3 separate regions of the Homo sapiens genome follow, and regions 1 and 3 are each linked to region 2. The links are contacts of gene promoters, found by promoter capture Hi-C in blood cells and fetal thymus (Javierre and others, 2016). All regions are on one chromosome and are shown on one strand. Each heading gives the region's core, a stretch centred on a gene start or on the middle of the fragment in contact. The rest is flanking DNA. Distances are from core to core; before and after follow the strand shown. Region 1 holds the start of HNRNPL (heterogeneous nuclear ribonucleoprotein L). Region 2 holds the start of RASGRP4 (RAS guanyl releasing protein 4). Region 3 has its middle 10 kb from the start of LGALS7B.

Region 1 (2,888 bases), core at 51-2,550, 420 kb before region 2:
CTGGAGATACCCTCCGACATTCTCTTGGTGCAGTGCGGGTGGTCTTACCCCGCCCTTGAGGAAGAAAGGCCCGACGCAGGCACAGATCACAAGAACGCCTCCCCTGTGCAGGGGGCTTGCACTGTGCCAGGTGCTGTACTGGGCGCTTGGTAGGTGGCCACCCTCTCCAGGGTCGGGGCCAGGACCTCCTGTGGTGCTCAGAGGGGTCGAGCTGTCAGGTGAAAACCACTGGCCCGAGTTATGGCTTTGAAGGGAATCCTGGGGGTCTGGGATGGCAGGGACCTGTTAATTTAGATCGCACGGACAAGATGACTTGGCCCTTAGCTCCTGCAGGAGGGGTAGTGGACTATTGCAGGTGGAAGGGACTGCATGGGCACACATGGAGAGTGCGCGGAAGAGCCTTCTCCCAAGGGAAACTGAAAGGGGTTGCGGCTGAATTTAGAACTGGACAGGGTCCGAAGACAGTCGGCAGCAGCGAGTGGTTTTCTACTGAGGAAAAGGCTCAGATTTGGGATTTTAACAATTCCTCCTAGAGGTAGAAATGAACACGGTATAGTGATGGCGACAGAGATACCCTGGGAGTTCCTGTCAATCTTGGTCTAGCCTTCCGGCGCACACACAGCGGTCGCTCCATAAGGGGGCCCCGCCTCTGGGCGGTGCCTGAAAGCGTATTTGCGCATGCGTTCTCGCCTTCGCTCGTTTCGTATACTGCACCAAAGAGCGCCTACCCTGGGGCGGGGCTCCCCATTTCATCCAATCAGAGCGTATCAACAGTCCTACCATCTGGTGAGAGGGTGCGCTCCACTCTCCATTGACCAATCAGTGGAGACGCAGAAGAATGGGCATCTGTAACCACCACTGGAGAGAGACCAAAAAAGGGCGGGGCTTCCTTGTCTCCTTGCGAAGTGGCGCGGGAAGGTCGTCATTGTGACTGGTGCTGACGGATTAGCGAGGAGACCAATGAAAGTGGGAGGGAGGCGGAGATTCTTGGGAGGTTTAGAGCGCCGTTCCTATCAGGTGCTTTTAGGGAGGCCAGCAGCGCCAGAAATCCGACCTATCAAATTGGATTTTATTTTAAGGCGGCGGGGTCGACGGAAAGACTGGCAGAAAGCGACCACCTATAAGGAGTGTCTCAGACAAACAAGGGCGGGCCCTCCTGCAGAACGGCGTGGGCAATGTCCAATAAGCGCGCAAGGCGTGTGGCGGCCTACCCTCCCCCCGCGGCGGGACCAGTGGCTCCCCCTATCGGGTGGGGGCGGCGGGTGACGGGCGTGTCCCTCCCCCAATGAGAGGCGGGGGGAGGCGGGTTCTGCGCCGCCATGTCGCGGAGGCTGCTGCCCCGGGCGGAGAAGCGGCGTCGGCGGCTGGAGCAGAGGCAGCAGCCGGACGAGCAGCGGAGGCGGTCGGGAGCGATGGTGAAGATGGCGGCGGCGGGCGGCGGAGGCGGCGGTGGCCGCTACTACGGCGGCGGCAGTGAGGGCGGCCGGGCCCCTAAGCGGCTCAAGACTGACAACGCCGGCGACCAGCACGGAGGCGGCGGCGGTGGCGGTGGAGGAGCCGGGGCGGCGGGCGGCGGCGGCGGTGGGGTGAGGCCAGGGCCCTAGGCGCTGGGAAGGCCGGGAACTGGGGGACAATTTCCCAGCTTGAGGGCATTTTATTTTTTGAGGGGGGCCTCTGCGCACGCGCCCAGGCCATCGCGTCGTTGACGGTGTGGGGGAGGGGCGGCCGTTGGGCAAACGGCGGGGTTTGCGCGAGGACAGGCGCCTGCGCGTGCGCGGGGTCCGGAGCGGGGTGTGGGGGAGCGCAGAGGAAGTAGCTCGTGAGGCGAATGGCCCAGTGCGCAGGCGCCGCGGGCTGGCGTGTGGGGGCCGGGCACGCGGCCCGGCCGGTTTTTTTCCCCTTTATCATTTTCTTCGCTGGCTCCATGCGCAGGCGCAGTGTTCCCGCCCGGCCTCGTGGGCGGTTAGGGGAGCGCCTGGTGAGCGGGAACGGGTGGGCGGCGGCCTTGTTCTCTAGAGTGGGGAATTCCGTCTGATGGCAGCTTAATCTCTAAGGCCCAGCCTTGTGTCTATACAGAAATGGATGTGTTTGAGCCTAGATGCTCTCATTTTTGTAGGCATTGAAAATGGGAAGAGGACTTGTGAAATGCACTTTTAGCCTTTTAGGAGTTGAGCGAAGCCTTGAAACCATCACAAGTTTGCTTACAGTTTCCGGGGATTCACTGGGTACCGAGGATTTGATAAACCAAACTATTTCCTGGCCATGTTGGAAGCATTTCGACCCCCTGTAATCAGTCCCTCCGAAAACACCAGTCGTTGCTTTTGGAGTGGGGCCCAGTCCCCACTCTTTCCAAAATCTTGAAGTCTTACAGGGCCGCCTATTTGCAGGGTTTTCCAGGGTTTAGGGGTTACGAGTTGCTAGCGTTTTAATCTTGGCCTTGTCCCACACATTTTAAAGACATCTTAATTGAAAATCCTTAACGCTTCCTGAGGTTGGGGGAGATACTGGGATTCCCGATTTACAAAGGAGGAAATGGGCCAGGAGAGAGATGAGATGAGGTGAATTACTGTAGGTGGCACAGCTAGTGAGGGGCAGGGCTGGAGTTAGAACTCCCATTTGTGGGAGCTGCTAACCTGGCGGGAGTGCCTCACCCTGTGGTTCGCGTGGATCGCTCCTGAAATAGAATCCAATTCTACCCACCTTCCACGCACTTCTGCCCAGTGATTCTCAGACAGGGGGCCGGCCCCAGAGCCCAGGAGAGGCGGAAGAGAGTTAATCTTTCTCCTGATGACCAGAGGCTTTTGTCGGTGGGTGTAAGATACTTCTCTTAGGAAGGAGCAGTCGGTTCTTAATGGTATGGGTTGGAGTCTCTGGTCTTTCTAAAAGAC
Region 2 (2,872 bases), core at 198-2,697:
AATACTTAATGATTCGTGATCTTTTTTGTACTTCAATTTAAAAAAAAGTGTCGAGCATGACACATTTAGGTAAAAAGAAAAAAATGCACACTCAAAAGAAAAGTCTGTTTCTAGGAGCACATGTTTATATGATGTGCTTAAACGCACAGACAGCAGTTTGGACGAAACTCGACAACGTGTCATATTGGTCACACCCTGCTTAAGAAAGGCAGGGGATGGGGAGGGGCTTCCCCAAGGCTTTACCTCCATCTCTAATGTTTTTTGATGTGTGTGTGTGTTTTTTTTTTTTGTTTTTTGTTTTTTGAGACAGGGTCTGGCTCTGCCACGCAGACTGAAGTGCAGTGGCACCATCATGGTTCACTGCAGCCTCGACCTCCTTGGGCTCAAGCAATCTTCTAGCCTCAGCCTCCTGAGTAGCTGGGACTACAAGTGTGCATCACTACGCTCAGCTAACTTTTTTTTTTTGAGACAGAGTTTCGCTCCTGTTGCCCAGGCTGGAGTGCAATGGCGCGATCTCGGCTCACGGCAACCTCCGCCTCCTGGGTTCAAGCAATTCTCCTGCCTCAGCCTGCCGAGTAGCTGGGATTACAGGCATGTGCCACAACGCCTGGCTAATTTTGTATTTTTAGTAGAGACGGGGTTTCTCCATGTTGCTCAGGCTGGTCTTAAACTCCCAACCTCAGGTGATCCGCCCACCTCGGCCTCCCAAAGTGCTGGGATTGCAGGAGTGAGCCACCACACCGGCCTAACGTTTTACATTTTTTGTAGAGACGGGGTTTTGTCACGTTGTTCAAGCTGGTCTCAAACTCTTAGACTCAAGCGATCCGCCTGCCTTGGCCTCCCAAAGTGCTGGATGACAGGCGTGAGCCCCTGTGAGCCCCCGTGCCTGGTCCGGTATGTAATTTTTTTTAAGGTAACAGTGGATTGTGTGAGGATTAAATGAGTTAATATTTTTAAAGTCCTTACAGCAGTGTGTGGTACACAGTAGGTGCTATGTGGAGGTTTGTTACAATAAAGTCAGAAAGTGAAAATGTTTTCCAGGGTACAAATGGTATCACTTAAACTAGGAATAAGAGACGCCTATGAAGAAATATACAAAATACTATGTCTTGTGAGTTTCCATTCAAACCTTCATGAATTATATATATGAATATGTCCTTCTAGACAGACAGACTTATCTTTTTGAGTGAGTGTGTGTGTTTTTACATAAATATCAGTCATGCTTTAAAAAGAAAAGCCCCTTCTTTTATTGAAGTATGACAGTGACGGGTCTCGACACCGAAAGATGGGGGAGATAGAGAGCCCGCCGGGGAGCTTGAGGGTGGGAGAGCCAGCGATGCCGGAAACCTCAGCAGAAGGGATCCCCGTGTGGGGGAGGGGGGCCTTCGGTCTCTCCCCAGCCTCTTCCTTCCCCCTGGCCTGAGGGTGGGTGGGGAGGGGCAGTTCCTCTTTCCTTCCCAAGCACCGAGGAGGCCCCAGCTCCCTAGGGGCTGAGAAGCTGGAGTCCTGGGCAAGGGGAGGAGCTGAGCCCTACTCTTGCAAGACCCCCGGCCTCCTCACCCCACGCGGGAAGCATGAACAGAAAAGACAGTAAGAGGTGAGAGGACCCTCCCCAGGGAGCCCGGCAGCACCCTGAGGCCTCCCTCTGCATGGGAGGGCTGGGGAGATCACTCGCCAGGGTGGCAGGATTCCTGACTTCTTTGGGATCAGGCGCAGGGGGGCCAGGTGGATGCTTCAGGGAGTCTGGAGCCAGCTACGGCTGCAGTCGCTTGTATGTGGCATCTGTACCGTGTTGTCCCTGGAGTTTGAGCTGCTCCGTGCCCCTTTTCCACTCCTCATCACCCCACCTCCATCCCTGGCCTGGGCTGAGTGTCTCTGCCCTCCCTGGGGGCTTCCTGGTTCCCCATCCCCGTGGACTGGAAACTCCAGGCTCCTGCAGGGCCTGGCCCAGGAGAGGGGAGTGTGGCACAGGGCAAGGCGACTCCCCTGCCTCTTAAACCACTCCTGGCTGTTCCAGACCCCTACAGGGGGCTGCAGGACAGGGCCTAGTGGCTGGCTGTGCGGCCGGTTCTGGAATGGGCTTCATCTCCTGGGCAAGCTGGCCCTTCTGTCCCCACAGAGGCAGATGGTGGGTGGCTCCCTAGCCTGGGTAACTCCTCCTGCCACCCCCAGCACCACTCTGATGGGCAAAGGGCTTTCCTCCCCACCCAGCAGTTTAGTGGTAGACTCCTGGCTGCCTAATTTCCTAGCTGTGTGACCTTAGGTAAGTCACTTAACTGCTCTGTGTCTCGGGTTTTTCTTCTGTCAGTAGAACAATCATATCCTCTACCTCGGAGAGGCCTGTAAGTACTCAATGAGACACTCTAGACCAGTGGTTCTCAAACTGGAGCGAGCCTCAGAACTGTCTGGAGGGCTTGTAAAATACAGGTTGCTGGGCTTACCTTTAAAGTGTTTGGTTTTTTTTTTTTTGTTTTTTTTTTTTGAGACGGAGTCTCGCTCTGCCGCCAGGCTGGAGTGCAGTGGCACAATCTTGGCTCACTGCAACCTCTGCCTCCCGGGTTCAAGCGATCATCCTGCCTCAGCCTCCCAAGTAGCTGGGACTACAGGTGTGCACCACCACACCCAGCTACTTTTTTGTATTTTTAGTAGAGATGGGGTTTCACCATGTTGGGCAGGATGGTCTCGATCTCTTGACCTCGTGATCCACCCACCTCGGCCTCCCAAAGTGCTGGGATTAGAGGCATGAGCCACCACCCTTAGCCTTAAAGTGTTTGATTTTGTAGGTCTGGGTTGGGACCTGAGAATCTGTATTGATATCCAGTTCCCAGGTGATGCTTTTGGTACTAGCTGGGTGCCCACACTTAGGGAAATG
Region 3 (2,792 bases), core at 8-2,507, 370 kb before region 2:
GCCCATTCATCCCTCCATTCAGCAATTCATCACTTTTCCATCTCTTTCTATCCAATTATCCATTCATCTCTTCATTATCTATTTTTTTCCAACCCTTTTCCAACTCAAGCTGGAAAGTTATCCATTCATTTATATTTTCTTCTCTCCATCTGTCCACCCAACCATGCTTTCATCAAATCACTCTTTTGCTGATTTCATCATTCATTGATTTCTTGTTTTTATTTTTATTTATTTTTTTTTTGAGACAGAGTTTTGCTCTTGTCATCCAGGCTGGAGTGCAATGGTGCTGTCTCAGGTCACTGCAACTGCCATCTCCCGTTCAAGCAATTCTCCTGCCTCAGCCTCCTGAGTAGCTGGAATTACAGGCACCCACCACCACGCCCAGCTAATTTTTGTATTTTTAGTAGAGACAGGGTTTTGCCATGTTGGCCAGGCTGGTCTTGAACTCCTGACCTCAGGTGGTGCGCCTGCCTCCGCCTCCCAAAGTGCTGGGATTACAGGCGTGGGCCACCGTGCCTGGCCCATTCATTGATTTCTTTCTTTTTTTTCTTTCTTTTTTTGAGACGGAGTCTTGCTCTGTCGCCAGGCTGGAGTGCAGTGGTGCCATCTCAGCTCACTGCAACCTCCGCCTCATGGGTTCAAGTGATTCTCCTGCTTCAGCCTCCTGAGTAGCTGGGGCTACAGGCATGCGCCACCATGCCCAGCTAATTTTTGTATTTTTAGTAGAAACAGGGTTTCACCATGTTGGCCAGGATGGTCTCAATCTCTTGACTCGTGATACACCCACCTTGGCCTCCCAAAGTGCTGGGATTACAGGCGTGAGCCACTGCCCCCAGCTGATTTCTTTACATTTTCATTCATCCATCTATTCTTTATTCACTCTCGTGTTTACTTATTCACCAGTCACTGACTCATCCACTTTCAAATTAGCTGGGTTGGCTTTCTGATGTAATGGGTTAGCAAGCTTCAGGACAAACCATGAAGTGACGAATTAAACCCTCTATATTATTAATTGGATAAAATGCTGTAAAACCGGTTATTAGCATGACTCAAACTAAGTTTAAATGTTTGCATGTCTAAAGCAACTTTCTGGAGTGATGGATATGTTCCATACCCTAGGTCACACAGCTCTGTGCATTTGTTAGAACTCATTGGCTGTATATTTTATTTTATTAAATTCTTTTTATTTTTGTTTTTATTGAGACAGGATCTCACTCTATTGCCCAGGCTGGAGTGCAGTGGTGTGATCACAGCTCATTGCAGGCTCAACCTCTGGGACTCAAGTGATCCTCCCACTCCAGCCTCCCAGGTAGCTGGGACCACAGGTGTGCACCACCATGCCCAGCTAATTAAAAATATATATATTTATAAAGACGGGGGTCTCCTTATGTTGCTCAGGCTGATCTCGACTCCCTGGGCTCAAGCAATGCTCCTGCCCTAGCCGCCCAAAGTGTCGGGATTACCGGCGTGAGTCGCTGTGCCCAGCCAACTGTACATTTTAGATTTGTGCATTTCACCAATATAAACAAAGAATCTTTCCGCAAAGCTTACCACAAGGAAAGAATCATAAACAAATATTGTACTCTAGCTAATGATGTACTTCTGAAATGTTTAGGGGTGACAAATACTGATGTTTACAATTTACTTCGAATGGATAAGTAAATAAAATGATGGCTGGGTGCGATGGCATGAGCCTGTAATCCCAGCACTTTGGGAGACGAGGTGGGAAGATTGCTTGAGCCCAGGAGTTCAAGACCAGCCTGGGCAACATGGCGAGACCCTGTCTCTACAAAAAATAAAAAAGTAAGCCAGATGTAGCAAACATCTGTAGTTCCAGCTGCTAGGGAGGCTGAGGCAGGAGGTTGGCTTGTGCCCAGGAGTTCAACGCTGCCGTGAACCATAATCAGGCCACTGCACTCTAGTCTGGACAACAGAGCAAAACTCTGTTTCTAAAAAAATACAAAATAGCTCCCTCCCCCTCCCCCTCCCCCTCTCCCTCTCCTCTTTCCACGGTCTCCCTCTGGACTGTGCTGCTGCCATCTCGGCTCACTGCAACCTCCCTGCCTGATTCTCCTGCCTCAGCCTGCCGAGTGCCTGCGATTGCAGGCGCGCGCCGCCACGCCTGACTGGTTTTCGTATTTTTTTGGTGGAGACGGGGTTTCGCTGTGTTGGCCGGGCTGGTCTCCAGCTCCTAACCGCGAGTGATCCGCCAGCCTCGGCCTCCCGAGGTGCCGGGATTGCAGACGGAGTCTCGTTAACTCAGTGCTCAATGGTGCCCAGGCTGGAGTGCAGTGGCGTGATCTCAGCTACAACCTCCACCTCCCAGCCGCCTGCCTTGGCCTCCCAAAGTGCCAAGAGTGCAGCCTCTGCCCGGCCGCTACCCCGTCTGGGAAGTGAGGTGCGTCTCTGCCTGGCCGCCCATCATCTGGGACGTGAGGAGTCCCTCTGCCTGGCTGCCCAGTCTGGAAAGTGAGGAGCGTCTCTGCCCGGCCGCCATCTCACCTAGGAAGTGAGGAGCACCTCTTCCCGGCCACCATCCCATCTAGGAAGTGAGGAGCGTCTCTGCCCGGCCGCCCATCGTCTGAGATGTGGGGAGCGCCTCTGCCCCGCCGCCCCGTCTGGGAGGTGAGGAGCGTCTCTGCCCGGCCGCCCCGTCTGAGAAGGGAGGAGACCCTCCGCCTGGCAACCGCCCCATCTGAGAAGTGAGGAGCCCCTCCGCCCGGCTGCCACCCTGTCTGGGAAGTGAGGAGCGTCTCCGCCCGGCAGCCACCCCGTCCGGAAGGGAGGTGGGG

Evidence for each region. The method cuts DNA at HindIII sites, captures the fragments that hold promoters and counts their contacts. A CHiCAGO score of 5 or more calls a contact.
Region 1: a contact is called between the fragment with the promoter of HNRNPL here and the fragment with the promoter of RASGRP4 in region 2, in 1 of 17 cell types (neutrophils). The highest score is 8.5, in neutrophils.
Region 3: a contact is called between a fragment that was not itself captured here and the fragment with the promoter of RASGRP4 in region 2, in 1 of 17 cell types (neutrophils). The highest score is 5.6, in neutrophils.

The regions. Positions count from the first base shown.
Region 1 is chr19:38,848,398-38,851,285 of GRCh38, reverse strand. HNRNPL (heterogeneous nuclear ribonucleoprotein L) reads left to right here and starts at 1,300. Exons shown (of 13, transcript NM_001533.3): 1 at 1,300-1,586. The coding sequence starts at 1,320. RefSeq lists enhancers at 523-592, 923-1,012, 1,163-2,100, 2,173-2,262, 2,101-2,888 and silencers at 1,163-1,422, 1,433-1,972. The HindIII fragment of the contact is 20,955 bases long and covers 1-2,888 here.
Region 2 is chr19:38,424,794-38,427,665 of GRCh38, reverse strand. RASGRP4 (RAS guanyl releasing protein 4) reads left to right here and starts at 1,447. Exons shown (of 17, transcript NM_170604.3): 1 at 1,447-1,597. The coding sequence starts at 1,575. RefSeq lists an enhancer at 105-619 and a silencer at 1,512-1,571. The HindIII fragment of the contact is 20,985 bases long and covers 1-2,872 here.
Region 3 is chr19:38,798,001-38,800,792 of GRCh38, reverse strand. No RefSeq gene overlaps it. Among named protein-coding and RNA genes, the nearest start is that of LGALS7B, 10 kb to the right of the region's middle. The HindIII fragment of the contact is 582 bases long and covers 967-1,548 here.